Linked DNA regions of Homo sapiens: all the other regions are linked to region 6. The links are contacts of gene promoters, found by promoter capture Hi-C in blood cells and fetal thymus (Javierre and others, 2016). All regions are on one chromosome and are shown on one strand. Each heading gives the region's core, a stretch centred on a gene start or on the middle of the fragment in contact. The rest is flanking DNA. Distances are from core to core; before and after follow the strand shown.

Region 1 (4,534 bases), core at 1,584-4,083, 3.8 Mb before region 6:
TCAGGTGATCCACCCACCTCGGCTTCCCAAAGTACTGGGATTACAGGCATGAGCCACCACGCCGGCCTGCTTTACCTTGCTTATTTCTCAGTCTGAGTGAGTCAAATTATGATAAGCCTCAAATTAATCATTTATAATTCAAATGGTAAAAAAAAATCTGGAATTCTTCATACTAGAAAGTCCATTTTCTTTTTTATGCCAAAAAAAATTGAGTTTCTTCCACTCAATTTCAAAACAAATCTGAAATTTTTAACATACAGGCTTAAGCATGTTTATTTAAACAAAGACACATAAATATGTGCAAAATGAACTTTGATGGATGACATATTTTTTAAGTTTTTATTTTTGTTTTTTCTTTTCTTTTTTCTGTTTTTTTTTTCTTTTCTTTTTTTGTTTCATTTTGGTTTTCTTTCTTTTTCTTTTCTTTTTTTTGGTGAATTTTTTTTTTTTTTTTTTTTTTTTTTGAGACAGAGTCTCATTCTGTCACCCAGGCTGGAGTGCAGTGGCGTAATCTCGGCTCACTGCAATCTCCACCTCCTGGGTTCAACTGATTCTCCTGCCTCAGTCTCTCAAGTAGCTGGAATTATAGGCATGCACCACCACGTTAGCTAATTTTTGTATTTTTAATAGAAACGGAGTTTCACCTTGTTGGTCAGACTGGTCTTGAGCTCCTGACCTCAGGTGATCCGCCCACCTCAGCCTCCCAAAGTGCTAGGATTACAAGCGTGAGCCACCACGCCAGGCCTTGGTGGATGATATTCTTAATGAAAGGGTCTGGATATGTGTATACCTTCCTATCAGCGGGTTGTGCTTGTCAGCAAGGCTACACATTCTGGTGCTGTGATTAGAGCAGAGGATCCTGTTTGTTTTTGTGATCAAGATTAGATAGGGCATGATTTGTACCAGGTCACACAAATGTTCTTAAACAATCGTGTAATGCTTAGAATGAGACTTGGGGGTTGCCTCCATTAGGGAAAGGGCAAGTATGTTTTATGTGTAGGAAAAACGGTATGTGTGGATATGTGGGGTCACCAGAATTGTGGCAGAGACTGTTAGTGGTCCTAATATTTGATCTTCCCTTCTTCAATAGTGATAGACTTTCAATTGTTCATAAGTAATTGTCCACAGAAACAAGACAACATTTTCACCAGTCTAATTTTGCAACTAATGTGTGGTCCTATAACTAAGTACCAAAGGGCAAGATATAAGCAGAATTAATATGCATGACTTCAGGATGTGAGAAGAAGTTATAGAGAAATACATAGCCTCCCTTTTACTGTTTCTGTCTTTCCATTGGCTGAACGGTGTGTGAAATGGGGAGGTGTCTGGAACATGGGAATGAGGACAGCATACTAGGAATGATAAAGCTACAAGACAGAAAAGCCCTAAGTCCTCGACATCTTTCTATTAACCTCAGAGAGAAATATGTTAACTTCTACCTCACTGAAGCCACATATATTTAAGGCCTATTTTATTCCCAATCAAATTTTAATTGTATTTTTTCCTCTTTATTTTTTGTAGAGATGGAGTCTCACTATGATGTCCGGGCTGGTCTCAAACTCTTGGCTTCAAGTTATCCTCTCGCCTCAGCCTCCCAAAGTGCTGGGATTACAGGTGTGAACCATTGCCACTGGTCTTTTCTTCTTTTTTTCAAATCTTTATCCTAAACAAAAGAAAACATGCCAAGAAAGGAGGCAGATTCCACAAAGGGTGAGATGTAACAAAATCTGGGAGTTTGGGGGGAAAATCCTGGAGGAAGGGAAATTGAATCTCTGACCTAAACAATGAATGAAATTAGCTAACAAAAGTTCTGAAATGGGAACCGGCATGGTGTGTGGAGGTACTAAAAGAAGAATGGAAAGAGAAAAAAGGTAGTTTGTGCTAAATCAGGAGACAAAAATATAACACAGATCATCCTGAAGGCATTAAGGAAGGAAAAGATTTAAAAAAGTCAAAAGTGATGCCCATATTTTTGGCCCAATCAACTGCGTGGATTGTAGAGCTATTTACTGAGAAAAGAAACACCATTCTGGGCATGGTGGTTCACGCCTGTAATCCCAATACCTTGGGAGATCGAAGTGGGAGGATTGCTTCAGTCCAGGAGCTGGAGACCAGCCTGGGCAATATGGCAAAACCCTGCCTCTACTAAAAAATACAAAAATCAGCCGGGTGTGGTGGTGAGCGGTTGTAGTCCCAGCTAGTCGGGAGGCTGAGGTAGGAGGGTCACTTGAGCAATCATTGCGCTACTGCACTTCCAGCCTGGGCGACAGAGGGACATCCTGCCTCAAACAAACAAACAAAAAAAAACAAAAAGAAAAAAGAAAAACAGAAACACTAGAGAAGTGGCTGGTTTGGGGAGGAAGATGATGATTTCACCTTGGATATGTCAAGTTTGTGGTGTTTGTGAATAGGCAAGTCGTTATGTGGCTCTGGTGCTCTGAGTTAAGATCGTGGGTAGAAACAGGTTTTGGAGTCATTGGCTACTGGATGGTAAATAAAGCTAGATGAATGCATAGAATACCTAGAGCAAGAATCTATACTTTGAAAAGAATATAAAAGTTATGAACAGGGCCTAAGATCCAAGTCCTGAAGGAATTCCGGAATTAAATGATTGGATATAAGAGGGGGAACTGATCAGGGAGATTGAGAAGAAATGGCCAGAGAAAAAGGAAGGAAGCAGGCGAGTGTGCTGTCATGGAGACCAAAGGAAAAGAGTGTTGCAGTAAATAAAGAATAGTCAGCCGGGCGTGGTGGCTCACGCCTGTAACCCAAGCACTTTGGGAGGCTGAGGTGGGCGGTTCACGAGGTCAGGAGATGGAGACCATCCTGGCTAACTAGGTGAAACCCCGTCTCTACTAAAAAATACAAAAAATTAGCCAGGCGTGGTGGTGGGCGCCTGTAGTCCGAGCTACTTGGGAGGCTGAGGCAGGAGAATAGCGTGAACCCGGGAGGCGGAGCTTGCAGTGAGCCGAGATAGCGCCACTGCACTCCAGCCTGGGCGACAGAGCAAGACTCCGTCTCAAAAAACAAAAACAAACAAAGAAAGTTAGCAACGCTGGATGCTGTTGAAGGATCAAGTCAGATGAGCTTTGATAAGAGGCTACTGGGTTCAACCACACGGGGATAACTAGTGACCTCAGTGGAGAAGTAGATGTCAGTGGACCATGGGGGTGGAAGAGAAATTAGGGTAGGTTGAATAGTGGGTAGATGTGTGAAAAAAGCGACAATTCTTTCAAGAAGTTTAGCACCAAAGGGGGCGGGAGAAAAGATAGTGCGGCAGCCATAGGAATTCTGAGGTTGAAGGAGGTGTTTTGTTTGGCTGGAGGGCTATTTAAGTTGGAAAATTTTGAGTCAAGCTCATTTAAATGCCAAAGGGAAAGGTCTACTGATGAGGAAAACACTGAAGATACAGAACAGAGATTGGATAATACAAAATTCAAGATTGCTGGGAAGGTAGGAGAGGAGGGGAATTGAGGGAGCGAGTGGTGGTATCAAACCAGAAAATGAAGGTGGGAGGGAGGAGTGGCTGAAAGGGGCGGGGCTAGGACTCAGGTGGGGCGGGGCTAGGACTCAGGTGAGGCGTCGGAGGCACTCACTTTAGGCACAAAATTTAAGGAGGCATCCCCCCAAAATCAGTAATTAAGATAAACACTTTAGTGTAATTTTTTTTTTTGAGACAGCATCTTGCTCTGTCGCCCAGGCTGGAGTGCAGGGGTGCGATCTCAGCTCACTGCAACGTCTGCCTCCCAGGTTCAAGCGATTCTTGTGCCTCAGTCTCCCAAGTAGCTGGGATTACAAGCATGCTCCACCATGCCAGCTAATTTTTGTATTTTTAGTAGAGAAGGAATTTCGCCATCTTGGCCAGGCTGGTCCGAAACCCCTGGCCTTTAGCGATCCTCCCGCCTCGGCCTCCCAAAGTGCTAGGATTACAGGCATCAATCTCTTAGTACATCAAAATTAATGTAAGAAATGTATGATGAACAAAAATCAACATAATAAACAAAGACACGACCAGATGTGAGCATGTAGACTTGGCAGTAAAAAGCTAAAACTGTTTTCTTTGTGAAGCAGGAGGCAAGGTTGTCTGGTGAGAGTACATGGGAAAGGAGATGGAAGGTTGGAGGTGAGAGCAAAGAAGGTTTGCTGCAGAAGTTGTGGAGAGAGGGAAGACAAGACAAGGAGAGAAATATGACGGCTGCCAAGGAGGATTAGCACCCAGGTGGAGCAGGTGGTCATTAATTCTTCACATCACTGATCTGGCCATTGTATGATCTCTAAGGCCTCTCTCAGAACTCAGAGAAAGCATGAAGAAGGAAAATAGATTTATGATCATGGCGGGTTTTCGCAGGGAAAAAGGTTGGGATGTTGGCAAGGGATTTATGATAGTGAACCACAGAAGCTATGAGAAGTTATGATAAGGGGCTGTTGAAACTAAGCCAGCGAGGTAATAAGCCAAAACATGAGAAATAAACTAAATCAAATGTGAAATGATAGCTCTGCAATAGAATGTAAATGCCAAATGTAATGGGGTGAG
Region 2 (4,715 bases), core at 207-2,706, 3.9 Mb before region 6:
ATAGTGTTCTTTTGGAAAATTCACATTTCTATTTTTAGTTCTTCCACATGCAATTCATAAGCAATAGCCCTCCGGAATCAAAGTCACCTCAGCTATGCCATGAGTCAAGAGAATCCCAGTGAATATATTTTTTAATAGCATGTTCAGGGAAAATGTGACCAGCTCTGTTCGGCCATACTGTCTGCATTGACTTGGCAGTTAGCATGAAATGAAGGATTTTAAAGACCAAACACTTCAATGAGTCCTGTGAAAAAAACTCCCAAGAACCTGACTGGGGACTTTGTTAGCTTGAAATAAATATATACGTCATTAAGTATGTTTTAAACACAGAAGCAACTATAACAGGATTTAATTGCTTACTTTTTTTTTTTTTTTTTACAGGTCAAACACATTTTAGAGTGCTGGGTTACACCCACTCTTTCTTCATCACATGTACAGAAAGGCAAAGAGTGTGGGTAATCTCTTAAATTTTAAATTCCCACTTGGTATGAGGATAAAACATCCAAGAAACATTTCCTGTGCAGAACACACCAAGCTTAGGTGTAGAAAATACAACGGTGTGGAACTCGAGAGGATGGTTCTAGGATACAAATAAAAACAACCACGCAGCGCGGGAAGATTTTTGTTTAGAAAACAGATGGGACAGAAAGGCAGATGCAATGTTTTGAGTCAATGAGATACAGTTCGTTCTTAATTATATTTCATTGATTTCTTACATGGACAGAACATCATTCTTGCTGCCACTGTTTTATTTTGATCAGCGGTATATCTATCTGTAAACATGTACAATTTGTAATTATTGCTATGTCTAAACACTGCATCACGTGTAATGGCTGAATTAAGCTGTGAAATGCGTAATTATGCTGAAAACAATGGTGTTCCAATACACATCACCAAAGCCAATTTAAAAAAATTACCTTGTTTCAAATCACAAAGCGAAGCCTTCATAACCCTCGAGGCTTTTTTTAGGTCCCACCACTTTGATTTAGAGATTTGTCTTTTTCTAATTGCATCTCAAGAGTGTTCCGAGCACAGAGAGGGATTATTAACCCTGAAGGAAATAAAACTGAGTATTTCTTACACCTCTGGAAGGTGGAGAACGTACTTAGTTTAACAATCTGGAAAGGATCAAAGGTCTGCCGGTATAGGTGTGACTGAACAATACATCCATTGGTAGACTACTATGCTATATTTGTAGGATATACTATAACATTCTACACACACACACACACACACACACACACACACACACACACACATAATAATCTTCTATAACAGGGTTCTAACTGTTCATATGGAGGCATCTCAAAAATATATTTTGAAGTGATCAAATGCGAGGTGCAGAACAAGGAGTACAGCATGATCTCATTCCTGTTAAAATATATGCAAATACATGCTTTATTTTCCCTGGAAGAAATCAGCAAGAAACATTTTACAGAGGAGACAGTTTGGGGAGGGGTTATGAAAAAGGGGGCTTTGCTAATGAATCTACCATCCACATATGGATAGCACTTTTTTTATTTTCAGTTAAAGTTATAAGGGTGAAGAATCACTATGTGATTCCCGCTGTCACCTCTGTATTTAGAAAAATGTTATGAGGTTTTTTTAAGCTCTAGAAGAAATCACAGAGGAAGCTATTAATATACTGAATGAAATTTGAAACTTCAAAACGTTAAAGGTTTTTAAAGCAAAGAGGGGAACAAGCTAGAAAAAAATGCCTTAAGTATGATAGACAAAAGGTTATCTTTTATATATGAAGAGTTAATATAAACTGATAAAACACTGTGATTAAAAAAAAAAAAAGAAAAACCACCAAGATGATGCCAGAAGATGTTATTAGAGGATTCAGAAAAGAAGCAACACAATTAGGCAACATTTATACAAGAAAACGTTCACATCCACTAGTTAAAATCTTCAGTCACCAGTGACATATTGTTTCCATTAAACGGTAGTGCATTTTATAGATGATACCCAATGTTGAGGAGGTACAGTGAAAAAGATCTTGCATCTGACGTGCCCATCCTCATGGGAAGCAACGTAAACGTGCATTGAGATTTAATGACATTTTTTGCCTTTGACTCAATGACTCTACTTCGGGGATTACTGCCCAAATAAAAAAGAGTTTTTATAAAGAAATACAGTCATCAGAGAATCACTCACAAAAAAAACTGGGAACAAGAGCACAAATGGTTGGATAAACAAAAAGAACACAAGGTTAAATAAACAAAGGTGAAAAATCACCTTGATGTACTATTATGCAAGCATTTTTAATTACTGTATAAATACTAATCACAGGAAATTATATCCATGTTAGCATAAGTTTAAAAAATCAATATTTGAATTATTTATACAATTATAACTACATATTTTTAAAACCTAAGCTTAAGGAGGAAACAAAGCTAAAAGACACAGAGCAAAATGTGTAGTGATTACTTTAGATACCCACCATGAGAAACTTTTTTTTCTTCTACTCTCCAAATTTTTTATGTTTTTTTGAGTCAGTCTCGCTCTGTCACCCAGGCTGGAGTACAGTGGCACGATCTCAGCTCACCGTAACCTCTGCCTCCTGGGTTCAAGCGATTCTCCTGCCTCAGCCTCCTGAGTAGCTGGGATTACAGGTGCGTGCCACCACGCTCAGCTAATTTTTGCAATTTTTTACTAGAGACGGGGTTTCACCATGTCAGACTGCTCTCGAACTCGTGACCTCGTGATCCGCCCGCCTCGGCCTCCCAAAGTGCTGGCATTACAGGTGTGAGCCACCATGCCCGGCCTATAAGTTTTTATAAAGGGGAAAAAGCATTTTTAAAAGAGCATAAGGTGTTCATATGAACAGAGATCATACTGTATTCCACCTCTTCTATGAAGAAAAGAGTTTTGATCCACAAACTTATCACTCTTCTAAAAGTATGTTTAGACTCTTGTACCTTCTGGAATGGTGGAAACAGCAGCAAACTCCTACTGAGCTCTTGCCAGGTGTCAAGCATTGTTCTAAGCATTTAACACATATAACTCAATCTTCAGAACCAACACAAACTATTATGATGCCTAAAGTCACATAACTAAGAAGCAGTGGCACAGGGATTAGAGCCCAGCAGTCTACTCCAAGAGCTCTTGCAACTAACCACCATATTATAATGCTTCAATTTGAAAACTACACAAAATCCCAACTGTTTCAAGTCAATCTATAAAGCAAATACAAACAAAATATAACCTAAGACTTAAAAATACCTTGTACTTCCTAGGATTTGATTAAATGTAATTGAGGAAACTTTGATAAGTTGGCAGGCAAGGGAAGACAAACTCAAATGATGATAAGATGCAAGAAACCACTGTTGTCGGCCGGGCGTGGTGGCACATGCCTATAATCCCAGCACTTTGGGAGGATGAGGCAGGCAGACTGCCTCAGGTCAGCAGTTCGAGACCAGTGTGGCTAACGTGGTGAAACCCCGTCTCTATTAAAAATACAAAAATTAGCCGGGCATAGTGGTGTATGCATCGTGATCCTCCCGCCTCGGCCTCCCAAAGTGCTGGGATTACAGGTGTGAGCCACCACACCTGGCCTATAAGTTTTTATAAAGGGGAAAAAGTACTTTTAAAAGAGCATAAGGTGTTCATATGAACAGAGATCATACTGTATTCCACCTCTTCTATGAAGAAAAGACTTTTTATCCACAAACTTATCACTCTTCTAAATAGTGGTCCCAGTTACTCGGGAGGCTAAGGTAAGAGAATCACTTGAACCCAGGAGGCAGAGGTTGCAGTGAGCCAAGATCATGCCACTGCACTCCAGCCTGCATGACAGAGCAAGACTCAGTCAAAAAAAAAAGAAAAAAAATGAAACCACTGTCATAGTGCGGTAAGTGGTGTCCAACAAATGAAGTGCATAAGACATGGTGGTCCAGGGCTGGGCGCAGTGGCACACACCTGTAATCCCAGCACTTTGAGAGGCCAAGGTGAGTGGACTGCTGGAGCCCAGGAATTTGAGACCAGCCCAGGCAACGTGGCAAAATCCTGTCTCTATAAAAAATATAAAAACTAACTGGGCATGGTGGCATGTACCTGTAGTCCCAACTACTGGGGAGGCTGAGGTGGGAGGATCACTGGAGCCCAGAAGGTCAAGGCTTTAGTGAGCTGTGACTGTGCCACTGCACACTCCAGCCTGGGTGACAGAGTGAGACCCTGCCTCAAAAAAAAAAAAAAAAAAACTACGGTGTTCCATTAATGCAAATTTAATAAAAATGGCATTTTCAGTCAGTGAGTAGTGTCACACACAAAAAAGCATAAAGTAAATATAGTGAAACTTAAACAGCCCACAATAAAATGGTAATTGTGTCAGATCCGAATTTGCCTTTATTGCAGGGTCTATTAGGGTAAGATTTAGAGCAGGGAAAATCGATGTTCTGGAATACATTCCTAGGGATTACAGAGGCATGCGGCTCTCTGGCTGATGTTAGAATGAATAACCAATGCTACTCTTCTCCCTCTACTCCGACATAGTGAAAGTGACCAGCAGCACGCTTAGACATGGCTCTGCAGAGCAGGTGTTCTGTCAGCTTAACAATAACTTGATTATGAGTCTGAGCAAATAATGTGAAACTACCCTTCCGTTTTCCCAGCCATAAATCTCTTCCAAGGTCTCAAGAGAGCCCAGCCCAATGACAAAGGGACAGGCTAGAACAATGCTTTTAAAACTCTAGTTGATGGGCCAGTGGGTC
Region 3 (4,534 bases), core at 293-2,792, 3.2 Mb before region 6:
TTGTAGATGTGATTAAGGATTTTGAGATGGGACATTATCCTGGATTATCTGGGTGGGTCCAATGTCACCGTCATTTTTGGAGACAGGGTCTCACTCTGTCGCCCAGGCTGGAGTCCAGCTGCGTGATCTTGGCTCACTGCAGCATCTACTTCCCCAGGCTCAGGTGATCCTCCCATGTCAGCCTCCCAAGTAGCTGGAACTGCAGGGGTGCACCACCATGCCTGGCTAATTTTTGTATTTTTCAGGACACAGGATTTCGCCATGTTGCCCAGGCTGGTCTCAAACTCCTGGGCTCAAGTGATGCTCTCACCTTGGCCTCTCACAGTGCTGGGATTACAGGCGTGGGCCCACCACGCCTGACCACAATGGTCCTTTTAAGAGTGCAGTAGGAGTAGGGAGAGTCAAACAGAAGATGATGGGATGGAACCAGAGATGAGTGATGTGCTTTTAGGACGTAGGAAAAGGTCACAAGCCAAAGACTACAGGCAGCCACTAGAAGCTGAAAAAGTCAAGGAAAGAGATTCTCCCCTCAAAGCTCTCAGAAGAAAATTCTCCCCAAAGTCCTCATAAGATGCCAACATTGCCGATGCCTTGACTTTAGCCCAGTGAAACTGATTCCAAACTTCTGCCCCAGAACCGTAGGAGAATACATTTGTATTGTACCGTTTCAAGGCACTAAGTCTGTGGTCATTTGTTATAGCAGCTATAGGGGACTAGTATACCCAGCCTCTTAACTGAGTAAAGCCAGAAAGATGTACATGAACAAAAGGAACGATGGAGAATAATTGCCCTCTGGTAATACCAAGTGGCAGAAACTATGCCACTTCAGTCTATTGTCCTGTATAAAAATAGGCTGATGGCTTCATATCACCTGATTTTCCAAAGAGGGCATGTATTAGTTTTCTTTTGCTGCTGTAACAAATTATCACAAACATAGTAGCTTAACACAAATATATTTTACAGTTCTGCAGTCATAAATCTGGCATTGGTACCATTGGGCTAAAATCAAGGTGTTAGCAGGATTGAGTTATTTTCTGGGGGCTCTAGGGAAGAATCTGTTTCCTTTTCTTTTGCAACTTCCAGAGACTGCTCACATTCCTTGGCTTGTGGATTCTTCCATCACCTTCAAAGCCAGCACTGACTGGTTGAGTCTTCACATGGTATTACTTTCAACCTCCTTCTGTGTCTCCCTTTTGTACCTATAAGGATGCTGATGATTACATTAGGCCCACTCACATAATCCAGGAAAGTCTCCCTGTTCTAAAGTCTGTTGATTAGCAAGCTTAAATTCCATCTTCGATGTTCATTCCACTTTGCCACATAAAGTAACATATCTGCAGCTTCCAGAGATTTGGACTTGAGTATCTTTGAGGTGCCATTATTCTGCCCACCTTAAATGTGGATATAAAAATACATTGTAGATTGCTGTATTATCTGTAGTCTTTGATTTTTTTAGGTTTTCTGTTTTTTCTCTCATGTTGTTGGCCCTCTCTCATGTGTGGTGATTCAAGGTTGTAAATTCATCTTCTGTGGGATGTTCCTTCTGCAAACATCCTGGACCACACTGACTTCAGGAATTATGGCTGTGTTGGTTTCTCTTGAGGTGGTCTTGGCAGCTGTGGTGGTTTTCCACACAACAGAGATGGTTTCTCAGCACTGCAGGGAGGAATATGTTTGAGAGAAACCTGCCTACCTCAGGCTGAGGTGCCTTCCTTTGTAGAGTTTCTATCTCTCCTAAATCCTGACCACAGCCAGAAGGGACTATTTGCATTTCCCTTAATATAAGAGTCCCTTTTCATTTCCAAGCTTATTAGACCTTCCTTTAAGACACTGTAAAGCAAAAGCAGCAGCATGCATGGGAAGCCAAATAACAACAATATTGAGTAAAAGGAGACCTGCTTGTTGTTGGGCAGACAAGACTAGTGTCTCTTAGGTGACCTTTATACAAAGTATATCCCATCCCTGTTCTTGATAACAATAAAAGCTGACACTTACATTCCATTTATCACATGCCAGAAACTGTTTATTGCACTTGGCATATATTAACTTACTAATTTCTCAGAACAACTATTAATGTCTCTACTTCGTGTCTCTACTTTGCAGGTGAGTTTACAAAGAGGTTGTGTTAGTTTGTTCTCACACTGCTACACGGACATACCAGAGACTGGGTAATGTATAAAGGAAAGAGGTTTAATTGACTCACCGTTCCACAGGGCTGGGGAGGCCTCAGGAAACCTACAATGATGGCAGAAGGGGAAGCAAACATGTCCTTCTTCACATGGTGGCAGCAAGGAGAAATGCAGAGCAAAATGGGGAAACGCCCCTTATAAAACCATCAGATCTCATGAGAACGCACTCATTATCATGAGAACAGCATGAGGGTAACCATCCCCATGACTAAATTACCTTCTACGAGGTCCCTCCCATGACATGTGGGGACTGGGGAACTATAATTCAAGATGAGATTTGAGTGGGGACACAGCCAAACCATACCAGAGGTTAAATGACTTATCCTGGATTGTACAGTATTTTTTTCTGAGCAACTCAGCATCAAAAGACCTAGGTTCAGGATATGGAGGAATAGGTAATACCAAGAGAAGTTACACACATACACCACTTAAACAGCTTTCATTCATTTCCTTCTTTCAACAAGCCAAGTAACAACAGCAAGCAAGTAAAAGGAGATAGTGGGTGGAAGGCACATACCACATGTTTGGGGATTGATTAATGCCTCTCACTGCCTGGGCTGCCACTCATTCTCAGCCGGTATTTCTGATGGTCTCTGCTGGCAGATGTCTTTGCCCCAATCTTTGCCATTGGTTGGAGTCACCTCACGGTCAGTATGTGGTAGTCACGACCCCTCAAGCAGTGGCGGGAATCCACATTCATCATGGCTTGGTGGGTTGTCCCCATGTTCTGATTGGGGAGGGTGAGTCCTCTGGGTGCCTTGCAGTCTCTTGGTTTGCAGTTGCATCAGCTCTATTCTGGTTAGCTATATCCATCTGCATAAGCCATTACATCATTATATATGCGTTGTTGGCTAGTTATACCCTTCCATATCCATGCATTTCAGGACTTTCTGAGCCTTTTCTAAACATGGTTATGACTTTGGGGGAGGGCAGGTGTTTATCTCTTTTGAGTGATATAGTCATATGCAAATCCGTAATGGGGTATACATGTATGATTTTAATTACTTTTGGAAAAAAAGCTTACAAGGAAAGGAACATTTTTGGTGGGAAAACTTGTTTATCTTCTTTTTTTAAAGCACAGCAAATAGATTTTTATTTATTCCTGTTAAAATGTATGATGTAATATCCTTTAATCATACGAAGCTAGTTAGTGACAAAGCTAGGATTCATATCCAAGCAGTCTGTATGTGGAATCCACACCTTTAACCACCTCTCTGCCCGGAACTAACTCTCTGCCTGGAACTAACACTTCAAATTAAACCGACTACCCATGAGCGTACAGACCATAGCCAGAAAAAATCCAAGTTATCTCAGTGCAGGCTACAGATGTCTTTGGAGCAGCAGCCAGAAGACCCTGGTATGTAAGAGCTATCTTATAAAGCTACTAAAACTTTAATGGGAGAGTTGCTAAGAAACTGATACAGAGGATATCTTTAAATTACTGTAATTTTGCTGTCTTGTAATAAGTTGTTTTACCTGTTTTTTTTTTGGTAAAGCTTTTTCTGATACAATGTTGTTAGTACGATTGCAGCTGTTGGCATCATTGCCCATCTGTGGTTTTGTAAAAAAATATTCACCTGGGTTTCTGGATGGAACTTCAACTAAGAGAACGCAACACTTTTATAGAGAAATCTGGGCCCTTGGCACCATAGACATTTCTGACATAAAAATAACTTATTATGTTTCGGTAAGACCAAAAATGAGGAAATGACATGCCTCAGCCAAACCACAGCTCTGGCTTGTGCTCGTGGATTTGCGGAGGAGGCATTGCAGAGGGGATCGAAGAATAACTAGACTTAGTAGAAATACTACCAGAATACCAAATACGGTGGGAGATCAATGGGAAGTATATGGATGGAATGACACACCAATTCCAGTTGAAATATGGAACTTGTGCAAGTTCATGATTGTGTAATTTTCAGAGTGTCCATGCGAACCCCATAGGGTAAGAAAGCAAACATCAGAACACAGCCCAAAAGATCGGTGTCCTTTGAGTTGGTGGCTTTTCTTTTGTGTCAACAGTATAGCCTAAGAGAGTGCTATGTGCTCCCATTTTTGTAGTACTTGGGTATACTTTGTGTGTGTGTGTGTGTGTGTGTGTGTGTGTAGACAGGGTCTCACTTTGTTGCCCAGGCTGATCTTTGATCTTGATTTTTTGGGATCAAGCATTCTCCTGCCTCAGCTTCCCAAAATGCTGGGATTATAAGTGTGAGCCACTGTACTCGGCCAGGATATTGTTTTTGTGAAAACGCTTATGAAAATAAGATACTACACACCTGTGATCAACAATAGTTTAGAGACAGAGTTTATAAAGAATCCTGAATTATCAGATAAGGAAAGAATTA
Region 4 (5,035 bases), core at 2,250-4,749, 3.7 Mb before region 6:
TCTAATATATTGTTGAAAGTGAATCATTGGTCAACTAGCAATACTTTTTTTTTCCTTAACATTGTTAACAAGGAACCTCAGTGTGGCTGTTCTTTAATTTATGGACAGTTCACACATTGGAACTGCTGACCTCTTCCTCAAAGGAAATGGGTGAGTCACTCTTGAGTACTCTGGCACCTTACCTAGCATTACATTTCCAGTAAATGTGTGTTGCATTAAATTGAGAGCTTAGAGTAAGAAATGGTTCCTGAACCATCAGGATCAGTTCTGAGTTAGGGACTGTGGCCTCTCTGTGATTATCCTTCCTTGATCTATAATTACAGTTTACGTGAGGACAATGTGGTACATTATAACTAAGGTAACAAGCTTTAATAGGGATAATTAGTACTAAATATTTTTCAAAATTATGGAACATAGCTAATATTTGTGATATTGCATGTGGAAAATAACTTACAAATGAATCTTTGGAACTTAACATATTAGTAATTTGAGACTGCCTGTGGAGAAAATAGAATTGAGTCATGTTTTTTCTTAACAGATTTTTATTTATGAAAAAATTCATAATTCTATAGTTCTTCTGGTTAGTGGACCTAAGTACAACTTTTGGAAAATGTAAGTTTTGAAATTAAATACATTTCCTTCTTTGAGTACTAGGAAGCTGTAAATTAGATTTGCGGTCCATTTTGTTTTTATGTTGGGCAATTTTTGTTAACTTTGTGAAATGAAGTCAGGTTAAAAAATTATCAGAAGTTATTACACATGTATAATGTAAAAGTTCATTTAAAAATGGGTTCATTTGTAAATATTAGCATATTGTTTGTGAAGGGCTTGTTGTATAGCCTGTGATATTAATAGTTACCATTTATTAATAGCTACTGTGGGTGTAGGGGTCTGATACACATAATCTCATTTAATCTTTGTAATAATTCTGCCCAAACACTATTTACCATTACCAAATTACCATTTTATAGATAAGGAAATTGAGGATCAGAGGCTAATACGTAGCTATCCAAAGTCATGCTGCTATTTCTAGTAAATAGTCAGCTGGGGTTCTCTATTGAGGTGGTGTTGACTCCCACCACCAGTCTTCTTTTTACTTAGCTTTGTTTCCTTTGAGGAACCTCATGACTCATAATAGAGTGGGGTAAATTGTATTGGAGACGCATCTTCCTTCTTATCCTTTCCTCCGTTTAGGAGCTGCAGTGAACACTTTTCATTGAACATGTAGCATGAAGAGGCTTCAGAAGTTTGAAAGTTTGAATCTTTAAATCTGTGATGTTTGTACTAATTATAAACTACATCCTTTTTTTTTTTTTTTTTTTTTTTTTTTTTGGTAGGAAACTCAACAGTGTAAATTTGATGGCCAGGAGACAAAAGGATCCAAGTTCATTACCTCCAGTGCGAGTGACTTCAGTGACCCGGTTTACAAAGAGATTGCCATTACGAATGGCTGTATTAATAGAATGAGTAAGGAAGAACTCAGAGCTAAGCTTTCAGAATTCAAGCTTGAAACTAGGTAATTAAAAATAACTTATAAAATTATAAAAGTAGTACATGCTCATTTTAGAAAATCTTGAAAACATTGAAATATTAAAAATCATCTGTAATCCTACCGTAATGACATGATCCTATTAACAGTTCACAAAAACTAATTAACATTTTTTATGTGCAACTCTGATTATTTTTGTCTGTCTTCTAGATGATAGGACTGCTGAATCAAAGTCAAATATTTTAATGACCTACCGGCAATGTATAGGAGTCTCTGTCTTATTATGACAAGAGTGTTTTAAATTTTTTTAGTTGCTCATTTAAATGATGGATAGTTATATTAGTGAGATAGAGTATTTTTTATTTTCTTTTTGCCATTTGTATCTTTTATAAAAAGAGTTTGTTTGAAATCAGGTACAATAAATTAAAAACATTCACTTAACAGGAATATTTTTTGTTTTAATTTCTAAAAAATAATCTACAATGATCGTTTGCATTATGTTTCACTGTATATTGAGTGAGAAAACAATGCAACTTAGTCAACTGTATGTGTATTTTAATGAGATATACACATACCTAAGTTTTTAGTAATTTTTTGCGAAACAAATCACTTTACGTTCATTGGGCCATGGGGCAGAAATGGCTTTTGGAGTCCAGAAAAATACATCGATTTTTGATAAACGGTAGAACTGCCAGGCATCAAGAAAAAAAATTGCCTGTATGAAATAGGTAAAAACTCTTCCTTTTTCAAGACATCTCTGAATCATAATTCTCTTAATAGTAGTATTCTTCCTCTTTAGAGTTTCACCACTCTTCAAAAGAGCACAAATTTATTAATTTCTAGATTGTCTACATCATAATGTATGAAGAAATTTTTGACTCCTATTTCCCCGATTCTTTCTGTTATGAAGGTACAACTTGTAGCCTACAGAAGATTTTCCGAGCAAAATTTTTGTCCTTCCCAGGTGTGAAGATCAGTTGCTTACTCCTGGCTTGCGTGGGAGCTAGCGATCTAGATGTATGTTTATACGTTTATTCAACAAGCCTGTATTGAATTCTAAGTACTGCACTAGGCATTGAAGTTATAAAGGTAAATACAGATATGTTCCCCACTTTGGCAATCTCAGTCTTTTGGGAAAACATACAAAGAAATCATCACAATACAGAGTGGCCAATGCTATATTGGAGGTCTGGCCAGGTACAGCATGAGAATACAGAGGAGAATATTTCTCAGGAATTCAGAAAGATGACATTTGAATTGTGCCAAACAGAAAAGGGAGGGGGAGGGTATTTCAGGCAAAAAAATAACAGAAACTTTTCTAATTCCAGTTTGTATGGTTTCTGCAACATGATCTTGCCTTTTCTTCACCTGTTGTGCAACCAAAGTTATAGGACATAAAAGTGTATTGAGAACATGCCTTTTATTTTTTATTTTTTTGAGACAGAGTCTTGCTCTGTCGCCAGGCTGGAGTGCAGTGGTGTGATCTCGGCTCACTGCAACCTCCGACTCCTGGATTCAAGCGATTCTCGTGCCTCAGCCTCCTGAGTAGCTCGGATTACAGGCATGCACCACCATGCCTGGCTAATTTTTGTATTTTTAGTGAAGATAGGGTTTCTCCATGTTGCCCAGGCTGGTCTCGAGCTCCAGCTCAAGTGATTCACCCCCCTCCCAAAGTGCTGAGATTATAGACGTGAGCCATCTGGCTGGTTGAGGCCATGGCTTATAGTATATTTTGTCTGCAGTACACAGTATACCTCAGGAACATGTGACAATGATAGTGAAATGATAGGTTGTAGCCAAGTTGTGAAGGAACTCTATGCTGAAGTCTGCATTTTACCTCGTAAGCAGAAGGGAGCCACTGAAGATATTTAAGCAGAAAATTGGTGTTAGTGCTCAGTTCTCAAGTAAAGTAAAGAATGAATCGAAGTGTTGTGGTAATGGAGGCATTTGCCATGCTCAACGAAGCTAATGAGAGCCATAGCAGAAAGAATTAGAGAGAATCATATTCTGAATATGTTTCTGAGTTAGAATTGACAAACATGGTGAATATTTGGAAGAGCAAAGGAGATGTTAAAGATAGCAGGTTTCTATCCAGAGCAACTAGTTGTATGTTTGTCCTGCCATTAGCTTTGCAGACAACTCTGGTAAATGTAGTCTCTCCCCCTATCACACCTCCCACCCCACAACAATAACAACCAATAAAAAGATAAAAAAAGAAAGTAATCCAAAGCTGTCACATGACACAGAGGTCACTCACAGTGCCTTAATATGAAAGAGGTTAAGGATTTTCTCCGTAGGTCTTGATAATTTTGAAAATCTCAAGCAAAGAAACAATATTAAGACATTTCATCTTAAAAAAGCTAACTGGTTGATTATTACTATTTTCATGGGTAGGATTTTTTTCAGTGCTTAATTGTATTTTAGAAAGGAAAATAAAAGACTAAAAAGGTTTTTTTTAAATAGTCATTAATCAGTTAACATGATACTTTACTTGGCACTACACATTAATTATAATTTAGATCTTTTTATTTTTACTTCCATTTCATATTTGCAGGCCAATATAGGATTCATTTATATAACGCTGAAGGAAGCCTGAATGCTGGTTGCAACTTAATTTTTTGGAAAAATACATATTGTTTAAAGAATGAAGTCACCTGATCACTGTTATCTGTTAGGATGACCTTTCTCTCCTCCCCACTACTCCATTTGTGGAATGTATATTTTAAAGCTACCTATAATATTGAAATCCCCTAAATCATATTCTACCCATGATAAATTAAGAAACTTATTTCTAGTTAAGAACCTACTAGTGTGATAATGCTCCTTTGGACAGTTTACTTAGAGTGTATTCTAATTGAGTTTTCCTTGTTAAGTAGCCAACAGACATTCACCTTTATATGCTAGGCTCATAATGCTTTCATATTCATATGAATCTTTTGAGTTGACTAACCTACAAAAGCCAAAAGAAAGGAAAGAGATAATACGATATTTTCAACTTAACCCAAATTTTTATATTCTTAAGTTTATATTTTGGCCAGTGGAATAATTTTATATTAATTTCAATGTTTGTATCATATATGTTATCTTAGTATATAAGGCAGTATGACGACTGTGTTGGTAGTATATGCTGACAGTGTTTATGGTTTGAAGTACCAGTATATGTTGGAGAAAATACTGTTATATACTACTAAAATAAAAAAAGACTTGTGAAGGAAAATGTTAATGTTGTAATAAACATATTATTTTAATTAGTTCTTTGCTAACTTAGCTTTGAGTCTTGCTTTTCTTACATTTATTTTAGCTAGCATTTGCTAAATTTCGCTGTGATTGTCAGTGTTCAGCCCAGTGCCAGCAGGTGAGAGTTTTGATTCTTGACTGTAGAATTTACCTAAGTGTAACTAGTCTTCTTCTTCTACTTAGAGGAGTAAAGGATGTTCTAAAGAAGAGACTGAAAAACTATTATAAGAAGCAGAAGCTGATGCTGAAAGAGAGCAATTTTGCTGACAGTTATTATGACTACATTTGTATTATTGACTTTGAAGCCAC
Region 5 (5,169 bases), core at 2,276-4,775, 3.6 Mb before region 6:
CACCCCTGGGATTACAGGCGTGCACCACCACCCCCAGCTAATTTTTGTATTTTTAGTAGAGACGGGGTTTCACCATGTCAGGCTGGTCTCGAACTCCTGACCTCATGATCTGCTCCCCTCAGCCTCCCACAGTGCTGGGATTATAGGCATGAGCCACCGTGCCCAGCCTTGTTTTTAAACAAGTACGAAAACCAAACAAGAGGCTATATCTGGCATCCCAGTGCCCCCCACTCTACCCATCCTGAAAAATCTGGGTGTGAACTGAGGGAGGAAGGGTTCCTCTTCACAGCTTCCTCCTCAACTGAGTCAGCACAGGTTATCTGCAAGTTCTCTTTGCACTTCCAAGAAGCCTGCAAACCAGCCTCCTACGTGCTTTTTCTGCATGTTAGGAAAAGCCTTGGAAACTCTCAAGATATTGTGGAAACAGCCAAAGCAAAAGGATCAATCAAAGAATCTACACACAGCCCACTAGAGCCAATGTCCCAAGTTCTAATCCCGCAGGCTGAAGAGACTTAGCTGAAGACCTTGGTAGAGTTTCACTGTTTCACCCCAGTGGCATAAATTTGTCCCTGAGATCCCTTTTTATCACCAAGCTGTAAGAACAAGCAGAAGTCCGGCTTGGAGAGGCCAGGCTCTAGTCAGAGCCAGAGCTAATTAAACAATGCTGCTGGCACTTGAAGGAGCCAAACTGCTATTACAAGATTCTTCCATGAAAGGCAAAAGTAAGGTTATGATGGCTCAAGAGTTACCCGCAGGACTACTACCCCAGGGACATTGCACAAGCAACCCCAGTCTAGAATCCCTTCACTTTGTGTGTCACCATAACTGCAGGTGAGGACATTAACCTGTGTGGCCTCAATCTGGGGTATGACTCGACTGTCAGTCACCTTGCCTGTCCCACAGATAGCTTCCAGATTTTATTTACCAGGTCATTCTCCAAGAATCAGCACACCAAAGTGCTGGTTTGGTGTAGGCTTTCCTGAACTGCTCAGGAACTCCCCAGCGGACTGTGACAGGGATGGCTGCCGCCATGCAGAAGTACTCCTAGCAACTGAGATGTGCAAGGTAATATTAAGTTCCTGAAAAGAAGGCACCTGGACAGGTGCTTCTTTTACAAATGACATGAAAATGATCGGTTCCAACACAGGAAGCACCAGGCTGCAGCCCAGCCTCCTCTCCTGACAGACTCTCTGGCTGCTCCAGCTCTGTCCTTTTCCCAGGCCAGGGAATATGAGTCACCAAAGTTGGCCAAGGGGGAAAAAAAAAGAACCAGAAGTTATGGACATACATTTGAACCATGAGAGCAGGACTCAGGATCTGATACCAGTTGCAGGATAGGAATGAGTGTATGAGTGCTGCTCCCAGGTAGGTATGAATTCTCAAACACTTGCTTCCATAGAGATGCCTCAGAGCTCAGGGATCAGTTTCTCTGGTGAGAGACTGGGCCATGCTTGAGGGTAGATTACAGTGTTCATGGCTAAGACAGGGCAAACCCTAACAGATCATGGAGATAGTTTTGCATAAATGCTTTATCTGTTCCACTCATAACACACCTTCTCAAGACAGCTGGCCAAGGTTAGACGGCCATGGTGATAACTATAGACCTGCACAGAAAATAACCCTATGACCTTCACGGTTTCAGGCAGCTGAACTACTGACTTTCTGGCTGTACCTTTCATAGGGAGGAAATCTTTTTTGTATCAGGGCCACGACATTATCCCCTCCATTCTCTTATTCTCTCTCTCTCTTTCTTCTGGTAAGAAAAGACAAAAAGGCCGGGCGTGGTGGCTCACGCCTGTAATCCCAGCACTTTGGGAGGCCGAGGCGGGCGGATCACGAGATCAGGAGATCGAGACCATCCTGGCGAACACGGTGAAACCCCGTCTCTACTAAAAATACAAAAAAAAAAAATTAGCCGGGCGTGGCGGCGGGCGCCTGTAGTCCCAGCTACTCAGGAGGCCGAGGCAGGAGAATGGCGCGAACCCGGGAGGCGGAGCTTGCAGTGAGCCGAGATGGCGCCACTGCAGTCCAGCCTGGGCGACAGAGCGAAACTACGTCTCAAAAAAAAAAAAAAAAGGCAAAAAAAGGCCGGGCGTGGTGGCTCACGCCTGTAATCCCAGCACTTTGGGAGGCCGAGGCGGGCAGATCACGAGGTCAGGAGATCGACACCATCCTGGCTAACACGGTGAAACCCCGTCTCTACTAAAAATACAAATAAAAATTAGCTGGGCGTGGTGGCGGGCGCCTGTAGTCCCAGCTACTCAGGAGGCCGAGGCAGGAGAATGGCGTGAACCCGGGAGGCGGAGCTTACAATGAGCCAGAGATGGCGCCACTGCACTCCAGCCTGGGCGACAGAGCGACACTCCGTCTCAAAACAAACAAACAAAACCAAACAAACAAAAAAATCAGATGCACAAGCAACCCACCAGGAACACTGAAAGCTGCCGAACTGCATTCAGTAAACATTCACAACCAGGTTATAATTTTCATTTTTAAAGACATGGCCATCTACCTCCCTCCAACAATTCTGTGTTCCCTTCCAAAAGGTTTCACTGATCCAGCATGAAGAGAGTGCATGTCTTTCCCCTTTGTACTCAGACCATGGGGGCCTATTCACAGCCTTAAAGGCTCCTTGTACCCCTTGATCCTGTCCCCATCATCCAAAGCATCTTGGAGACTGACATTTGTGAATACAGTTGCATATTCTAGGAAAGAGGCAAGTTCAAATGACACAGCCCCTGCCGTCTAAAAACGTACGAGGGAAAACAGAGTACTAGGCTAAGAATGCCCGCACCTTGCTTTGCTACTTGAGCGAGTCACTCAGCTGCTCTGGGCTTGAGGTCCCCTCCAAGGTCCCTGCTGGCCCTGACATTGTATGTTGCGACCCACCCCTGGTGCCGCTTCTCTTCCCACTAACTTTTTTTCCTAAATACCTCAACTGTACTTTTGTGTAAGTCCTCCAGCTGTCTTCACTTTAGTTTTGGCTCCTGGACAACTCTGCCCAAGGAAACATTTCCTCCTCTCCTCCTCTTCCTCCCAGACCAAAGCTCTAATTGTCTCTTCTGCTGCACCCTGGGTCTCCCAGGCAGGCCCCCGCCACTCAGACCACAGGTTCCAACACCTTCCAAGTCTCCAAGTTCCCAAGTCCAGTCTTTCCTCTGTTTTCTCCTCTTTTTCAGAAAACAGTGCTCTGACAGGCCCCAAATCTTCCAGTAAGTCATTACCGGCCCCCACTCCCTCTTTTGCAGCTACTGTGCCTTCCACACCCCTTTTTCTGGATTCCAAAGAGACGCAGGAGCAGGCCAGTGCTCTCCAGGCTGGAGGATCCCACAAGTTACTCTCCGACTCTGTCCCCTCCGTCCAGTTTGACCAGGGCTGCACTCCGCCCCCAACCTCCCTACAAGCCTCCTTGGCCTCGCGCCGCACCCACCTTTTGGGCCGCGGAGAAGCCCCCTCCCCAGCTCGCTCGCCGCATCGGAGAGCCCGCAGGGTTGTGGCAAGCGCGACTACGTGAGCGTCGGTGTGTCCGGGAGGCAGGGCCTGGGCTGGGTTCCCGGAGATGTCGGCGGTGGGAGGAAGACGACGAGGAGGAGGAGCCCGTTATCGCACCCGGGCGGGGCCGGCAAAGGGGCAACCCCGGCCGGAGCAAGCAGCGCGACACCAGCACCCCCGCGCGGCCGCCTGGCCTCCGCCAGCCCGGGACGGGGATCGTGCTAGGTCCCGTCGCCCTCGGTGGCCTGAGAGCCTACCAAGTGTATTTCCTCGCGTTTTATAGGGAAAATAAGGCCCGGAGAGAGACGAAGCGGCTTGTCCTTAAGCTCCAAACCCCACTACCCAACTTTGGAGAAGTCTCCAGACCTCTCGGGACCCGGGGCTGGGAACTTGTGCTAGTTTCGAAGCCAGAACAACAGGTGGTAAAGGGATCAGCCGCCGCAGCCGCAGCTCCCGGGTCACGGTCGCAGCCGGGCCCAGCAGCGCGGTGGAGCACGTGGGCCCGGGAGGCGCTTCCCAGCTGCGGTCCCTGGATCGCCCTCTCCACGCTGAAGCAACAGCTCCCTGGGGCCAGCTACCTAGAGTGTTCCAGCCCCGGTGTGCCAGTGCAAGTCGCACGGTGAAAATGTAGGTGACAGGAACCCAAAGAGGTCCCCGCTGCACGCCCTCGCCTTGTTGTCCCCAGCCCTTCCCTCGGACTCGAGACTTGGGGAGCTACGTACCGGGTTCAGCTCATAAGTCCCGAGGGCAGACGCGCCAGCCCGCGGCAGCATACGCCCTGGGGGAACAGGGACAGCTGCCGTGACGGCAGGAGCTGGGCCCGGGCTCGGGTTCGCGCCCCCCGCGGGCGGCGAAGTCCGTCCGTGCACGAGAGCTGCGCGGTCACCTCCTCCCTCCAGCAGTCACCCGGGACTCGAGCTCCCCGCGGCCGCGCTGCCCCCTTTAACTTTCCTGCCAGCTCTCGGGACCCCGGGGTCCATCCCAGGCCCCCTGCCACGTGAACGCCCCCCGCAGCCAATGGGCGCGCCCGGGACTCCAGCCGCCGACCAATGGGCGCGCAGCCACGGCGCTGGGGAGCACCGCTTCGCCACGTGATCGGCAGCGCGCCCGGAGTGATCCGGCTGCGGGCCAGGGTCTGGGAAGGGGGTGGTGGGTCGCCGTTTCATCAGAAGCCGGAGGACGGGCGCCAGGGGGCAACTTCCTACAGGAGGGCGTCCCGTTAGAATGACAGGGCTTTTGCAAAAGTCTGACACCCGTGGCACAGAGCGCCCCAGATATGGAGGGTTTCACAGGTAGGTATACTTCAGAAGAAATTTCCTGACTTGAATCGGTTATAATCGCTATCTAAATCTACAGGGCCTCCGCGATGCATATTATGCACCTTGAGATCTATAGAAAATGGTCTTAGAAAAAGAAAAAAATGATGACCTTAAAGAGTTTGAATCAGAGGCTCTTCCTTTCTTCAGTTTACATGTAACTTGATCTGAACTAGCCACTTTAGGCATGAGGCTACCAGTTTTCTAATTTTAATGACCAGTAGAGTTTTAGAAAAAAATTAGAAATTGATATAGGATTGCCAACTTTTTAAACTGCCAAGAAAGACATGAAAATAAACCCTGCTGTCTTCTATTACTATCCTTTTATTTTTATTTTTTAAAGTACACTTTAATAGCAATA
Region 6 (5,047 bases), core at 1,468-3,967:
TCACTAAATCAGCAGTACTGTCCATAAGGTTCAGCCTCAGTGACCAAAAAAACTTCCTTGGATATGTATACTAAACATGTGCTATAAGGCAGGATGAACCCTAGACCAACGTTTAGGAGAAGCGGAAGATACAGCACTGCCTCTCTACCAGTTAACAGTGTGACGGTGTGCAAGTCTTCACTGCCTGGCATCTGCTTCCTCGCTTTAAAAATCACACCATGGTCAGTTACTAGGTGGTCTGTACAACTGAGTCCAGTTTCTCTTCTCTTTATTCACCCAGAGAAGCAGAGTCATGTGTATCAGAATTCTGTATTCCAAATACTTTTTTTTTGTTCTGAGCCTACCTTTCTATTTTATACCTGCCTACTCCTCACGAAGGCACTGAAAGAATACAAAAATCTCCGGGGTTTGTGCTTCGAACTCTAAAGATACTAAACAACACAAGATCTTGACATTAGTTCAATATGACTAAGCACTTGGGACAAAAGATGACCCGAAAGATGATCCTTTCAGTTACACAGTCTATAAATTTACCTGTAATACCTAAAGTCAGTTGCTATTCTAGATGTCTGTTTTCTTGGGGATTATTCCCCTATCATTTCATGCCAATGGATAGACACTAAGATCTTGAAATACGCGTAACACAAGGTTTATCAACAGTGGCACTTGGGGCCTGATAATTCTTTGTTGTGGGAATCCTGCTGTGCCTAGTAGGATGTCTGAGCAGCACCCCAGCCTCTCCCACTAGATGTCGGTACCAGCACCACCCCCACAAGAGGTGGCAACCAAAAATCTCTCCAGATATTGTTCTAAATAATGCCCCCTGAGAGAGGGGAGATAAAATCCCCCTGGTAGAGAACTACTGATTTATATAGAACAACTCTTCCTTTTACGTAAGAGAAGCTTGAAACTGCCCCCTTTCAGCGCCTAAAACCACCTTAAGAAGAAAGTGCTAACCTAGGTTAGGAGGCCGAGGCTGCTTCTTGGAGACTAAGAAATGCACTCAAGACCTATAAGGCCTTTCCCCACAGCCTGATCCTAAGTGGAAAGGCCAGGAGAAGCGTGGCAGAGAACTATGGATCAGGCAGCCCCTCTCATCTTTACCATAAGCTAGGTGCACTGCAAAGTACATAGGAAATAAGCAGGATCTGAAACAGGCCAGCTGAAACTTTCAAGAGGAACCAGTTCAGGCATTTCCAGGTAGCAAGGGACCACCCTGGGCAGCTCCGCCCCAAGCCCCAAGCCCGGCGGCCTGCAGGGCCTCCCGGGGCCGGGCGCCCGCGCGGAGCTCCCGCCACGCCCACCGGACGTCACCCGTTACACAACGCCCCCCGCCCCCAGCTTATGCAATTCTGCCCTCCCGCGGTTCCCAATTGTCCCGGTGACTTTTGTGGGTGAGGAAGGGAGACGCCGCCTGCCCGGCCTAGTTGCCCTCGCGGGGGATTCTCTCCCCGCCCCGGCAGTCGTTTCCCCGCGGCGGGCCCGGCCCGAGAGCCAATTCCCGGAAAGCGCGCGGCAGGAAGCGAGCGGCCGCTCGGGATAGCCCAGCTACCACCCATCCCGCGCCGGGGCGGCCTCGGTCCAGGTCACCCACTCCGCGCCGGGAGCGCGCGCCCGACAGCCAGGCCGCGGCCGAGGGAACCCCGCGCCGAGCGCCCCTCCCCGCGCCGCGTCACAGTCGGCTCCCAGGGCGATCCCCATTATGACCGAAGCACCCCGGGGCGCCGCCCCCTCCCACACCCCCCAGCACCCCGAGACCCGACACGCCAGCGGCCCAGCGGCCCCGGGGAAGCAGAGGAGACTCTCGGGGCGCAGACAAGCTCCGGGTCCCCGGCCCTCGGGGCCAGGAGGGTGCGGTCGGCCCGGCCCCGCCGCATCCCCGCGCGGTCACCTGCTCGCAGCGCCTCGCAGGCGGCGGCCAGGGCCTCCCGGTAGCGCCCCTGGTGCAGTAGCTCCCCGAGCCTGCCGGCCGCCCGGGCCCGCTCGCGCTGGCCCGGAAACCACTTCTCGGCCAGGTGGTTGAGGACGACGCTGGTTCTGAAGTCTGAAGCGGCGATGGCGGCGGCCAGAGGCGGCGGCCGCGGGGCGGTCCCTTCAGCATCAGTGGCACTGGCGGTGGCGGGCGGCAGCCGGTCCCGGCAGAGGCGGCAGCGGGCGCGGAGTTCCCTCCGCAGGCAGCGGCGGCAGTAGCTGTGGCCACAGGGCACGGTCACCGGCTCGCTCAGGAAGCCCCGGCAGCCCAGGCATCTGAGGAGCCCGCCGGCGCCGCCGTCAGCGCCTGCAACCGGGGCCGCGCTCCAGCCCAGCCCGTGGCGGAGCCGGTAGTTGAACACCAGGCAGTCCACCAGGGCGCCCAGGCACTCGGGCCTGGCCGGGGCCCCGCGGCGCAGCGCCGCCGCGAACGCCTCCAGCGCGCCCTTCAGGTGGCCGCCCAGCGCCAGCAGCTCCCCGCGGCGGAGCAGCAGCTCCCAGCGCTCCGACTCCGCGGCCGCGCGCTCCAGCCGATGGCCGCTGCCGCCGCCCACTTCCCAGAACCGGCCTCGGCCCTGCGGCGCTGGGGCCATCTCCCGACTCCCTCCTGGGGAGGTCCTCGCCACCGCCGGAGAGGACATGGCCCGCGGAGGGCTGCGCCGCCGCCGCCCGCCGCCACGGTCCCGGAGCCTCCCGGGCGCGCGGCTCCGCACGCGGCCCGCGAGCAGGGGGGCGTGGCGCGCGGACACGGCGGGGCTGCGCGCGCCCGGGAAGCCCCGAGGGCGGGGCCTGGCGAGGGCGGGGCCGGGCTCGGCGACGGCGCCCGGGACTCCCCCACGCCGCCCGCGGCCGCGCTCCCGAGGAGCCAAGCGCTGGGCCCCGCCCCTTCCGAGCCCCCTCCGGGTGGGGGACGCAGGTCGGATGATTCCTCCGTCGGAGATCTAATTGGCTTCTCCGGAAAGGAGGGCTCGGCTCGTGACGGAACAAAGCCGGAAGGACCCCGGAGCTTCAGTCCCCGCTTGCCTGTCTGCCAACGCCGCCACCTGCGGTGGCCCTCGCCCCTGCCGGGGGTTGGGGGACGCTCCCCTGCCGCGCGGGACTCCGGGTCACCACCCCTCCCCCGACGCCCCCGCCCAGGCCGGACCTGCCCCAACTCCTGGCGGGCGGGGGTCTCCCCGCGTGGCCTCGCGCTTGTGCGGGTCTGCATTTTCATAGCTCTACGCCCATGTTCCAGGTGGGCGCGCCCAAGCAGGGGGCCTGGGAGCGCACCTTCGGCAGATGACTGGGACTCTTCGGTTCTAGAGGACTCAACTTTAAATATGAACAAAAAACCCACGTTCCTGGGGCGACTCCCTCCAGAGGGCAAGGAGTTTTTCCTGGTGCCAGGTGACTGCTTGCCCGTCTTGCTTAAAACTCATCGTGGGCCCACCTCGAGGGAGAAAGCCCACAGCTTCCTCAGGTGTCTCCACACCTCAAGCACTGCCTTACAGCTGGTTAAGGTCTATATTTGGCAGTTTTAAAAGAAAACACCAAGAAACATGTTTCACATGGCGGTCACCGTATTACTACAACCCAAGCTGGCTCTGCAGTTTTGCTGACAGAAGAAAATGATCGGGTTGATATATAATGGGTGCTATTTCCCTTAAACTTCACAGCAGCAAGTTTAAAGCTCTCAGCTGAAAATACAGATTTGATGATAGGGTATTAGATCGCTAATGTTGGAAGTCACTTAGGACTTTTAGTCCTTTTTCAAATGATTGGAAACACAGGGAAAGTTATTTGTCAAAAATCACACAGCTAATACAGATTTTAAGATCACGTCTATTCCACTACTACTACGTTAGACTAATATGTAATATTTAATAAAATATGTAATATTTCATAGAAATATATGAGATTTTCAAAGTAAAAGAAGTTGCTAATTGGAAAGTTCACCTGAGCATGCTATGTATGAAATTGGTAAACGTTTAATATTTCTCTTTATAAGGAACAGGCAATTAAGGCTAAAAAATGTTTTGAGTTCATGTGTTTTCACTACACAATCAACAAGTCGTGTAACGTCAGAAAAGACAGAGTTATATTACCCTAAAGGGAATGAATAAAAAAGAGGTGCCTGAGAAAAAGCCAAGCCTCCTGTTCCAACAGGATGCAGACAGAAACAAGTTCATTTATCACTCACATTGCACCTGAAGCAAATTGCAGCTAGATCCAAGGAGCACCTCCTAAGCATTTGGCATGGGAAGCATTGGGATTAAGTCATGAGCATAACCTTAAATCCAATCCTAACCCCTAAATTACTACCTTAACAAGCAGAACAGTGACTTTCAGCTGATGTCCACATACTCCCTTGAGACTTGAAATCACAAACAAATATCCATGTGTACACGCACATTCATTTTTGTAACGCATCCTTGTTCTTAATGGCATGTTGCAAAATTTACAACAGTAAATATGTAATCAATGTGTTCATGTTTATTACAAGGAGCATAGTAAATTAATAAACACTCATAAACTTCTTTTCAAATATAAAGTCAGGTTCTATTATGGGATTTCTGCCAAAAGTACAATATGTGGTTCAGAAAATAATGTGAAGTATTATTTGTCCTTTGGAGTTCCTTTTCCTAATAAATATGACAACCACATCTGATTCTGATGTGAAATAAAATGGCACAATTATGATAATGTGCGGGAGAAAAAAATGGGACCGTAGGAGGAATCTTACCGTGTTCTCCTTGGCATTTGTGAATGGTTATAATTCATGTTTGCTGGTTTATGCATTTACATAACTTGTTCTCATTTATGTAACTTATTTATGTAAGAGGCTGTACTGCCGCTGTGGCCTTTGTGTGCTGCATAACTTCCCTTTGAATCAGGAAGTCTAGGCAAAGCAGTCACTGGCACTGTCACAGGTCACCCTTCCATCATTCTCTGCCATCCAAAAGTTGCACAATAATGTGACTGCTTGTTTAAATTCAAAGGCGAGAAAAATTAGTGTCCTTCTTCGTTCATTTCCTAAAATTTAGACAGGTCTCTGAGTCACCCAGCAGGCTGTGATGGAGAAGAGGGAATCCTGCTA

Evidence for each region. Contacts are between HindIII fragments. The CHiCAGO score rates a contact against its expected background, and 5 or more counts as called.
Region 1: a contact is called between a fragment that was not itself captured here and the fragment with the promoter of LONRF1 in region 6, in 1 of 17 cell types (monocytes). The highest score is 5.7, in monocytes.
Region 2: a contact is called between a fragment that was not itself captured here and the fragment with the promoter of LONRF1 in region 6, in 1 of 17 cell types (naive CD8 T cells). The highest score is 6.5, in naive CD8 T cells.
Region 3: a contact is called between a fragment that was not itself captured here and the fragment with the promoter of LONRF1 in region 6, in 1 of 17 cell types (naive CD8 T cells). The highest score is 8.8, in naive CD8 T cells.
Region 4: a contact is called between a fragment that was not itself captured here and the fragment with the promoter of LONRF1 in region 6, in 1 of 17 cell types (naive CD8 T cells). The highest score is 6.9, in naive CD8 T cells.
Region 5: a contact is called between the fragment with the promoter of PPP1R3B here and the fragment with the promoter of LONRF1 in region 6, in 1 of 17 cell types (naive CD8 T cells). The highest score is 5.1, in naive CD8 T cells.

What each region holds. Positions count from the first base shown.
Region 1 is chr8:8,990,027-8,994,560 of GRCh38, forward strand. All of the region lies in intron 2 of LOC105379227 (a long non-coding RNA gene), which reads right to left. Among named protein-coding and RNA genes, the nearest start is that of ERI1, 11 kb to the right of the region's middle. The HindIII fragment of the contact is 6,566 bases long and covers 1-4,534 here.
Region 2 is chr8:8,873,116-8,877,830 of GRCh38, forward strand. All of the region lies in intron 1 of MFHAS1 (multifunctional ROCO family signaling regulator 1), which reads right to left. Among named protein-coding and RNA genes, the nearest start is that of MFHAS1, 18 kb to the right of the region's middle. The HindIII fragment of the contact is 1,846 bases long and covers 534-2,379 here.
Region 3 is chr8:9,548,409-9,552,942 of GRCh38, forward strand. No RefSeq gene overlaps it. Among named protein-coding and RNA genes, the nearest start is that of TNKS, 5.2 kb to the right of the region's middle. RefSeq lists an enhancer at 3,972-4,131. The HindIII fragment of the contact is 524 bases long and covers 1,281-1,804 here.
Region 4 is chr8:9,006,633-9,011,667 of GRCh38, forward strand. ERI1 (exoribonuclease 1) reads left to right here. Exons shown (of 7, transcript NM_153332.4): 2 at 1,338-1,516; 3 at 4,910-5,035. Among named protein-coding and RNA genes, the nearest start is that of ERI1, 6.3 kb to the left of the region's middle. The HindIII fragment of the contact is 3,993 bases long and covers 1,504-5,035 here.
Region 5 is chr8:9,147,133-9,152,301 of GRCh38, forward strand. It overlaps PPP1R3B (protein phosphatase 1 regulatory subunit 3B), which reads right to left and starts at 3,526. Exons shown (of 2, transcript NM_024607.4): 1 at 3,431-3,526. It overlaps PPP1R3B-DT (PPP1R3B divergent transcript), which reads left to right and starts at 4,593. Exons shown (of 5, transcript NR_183348.1): 1 at 4,593-4,784. RefSeq lists enhancers at 2,926-3,874, 3,921-4,160 and silencers at 3,511-3,780, 4,281-4,530. The HindIII fragment of the contact is 22,346 bases long and covers 1-5,169 here.
Region 6 is chr8:12,752,809-12,757,855 of GRCh38, forward strand. It overlaps LONRF1 (LON peptidase N-terminal domain and ring finger 1), which reads right to left and starts at 2,718. Exons shown (of 12, transcript NM_152271.5): 1 at 1,892-2,718. The coding sequence starts at 2,612. RefSeq lists silencers at 1,117-1,356, 1,497-2,036, 1,933-2,123, 2,127-2,466, 2,547-3,216 and 1 more and enhancers at 2,192-3,011, 4,665-4,724. The HindIII fragment of the contact is 11,195 bases long and covers 902-5,047 here.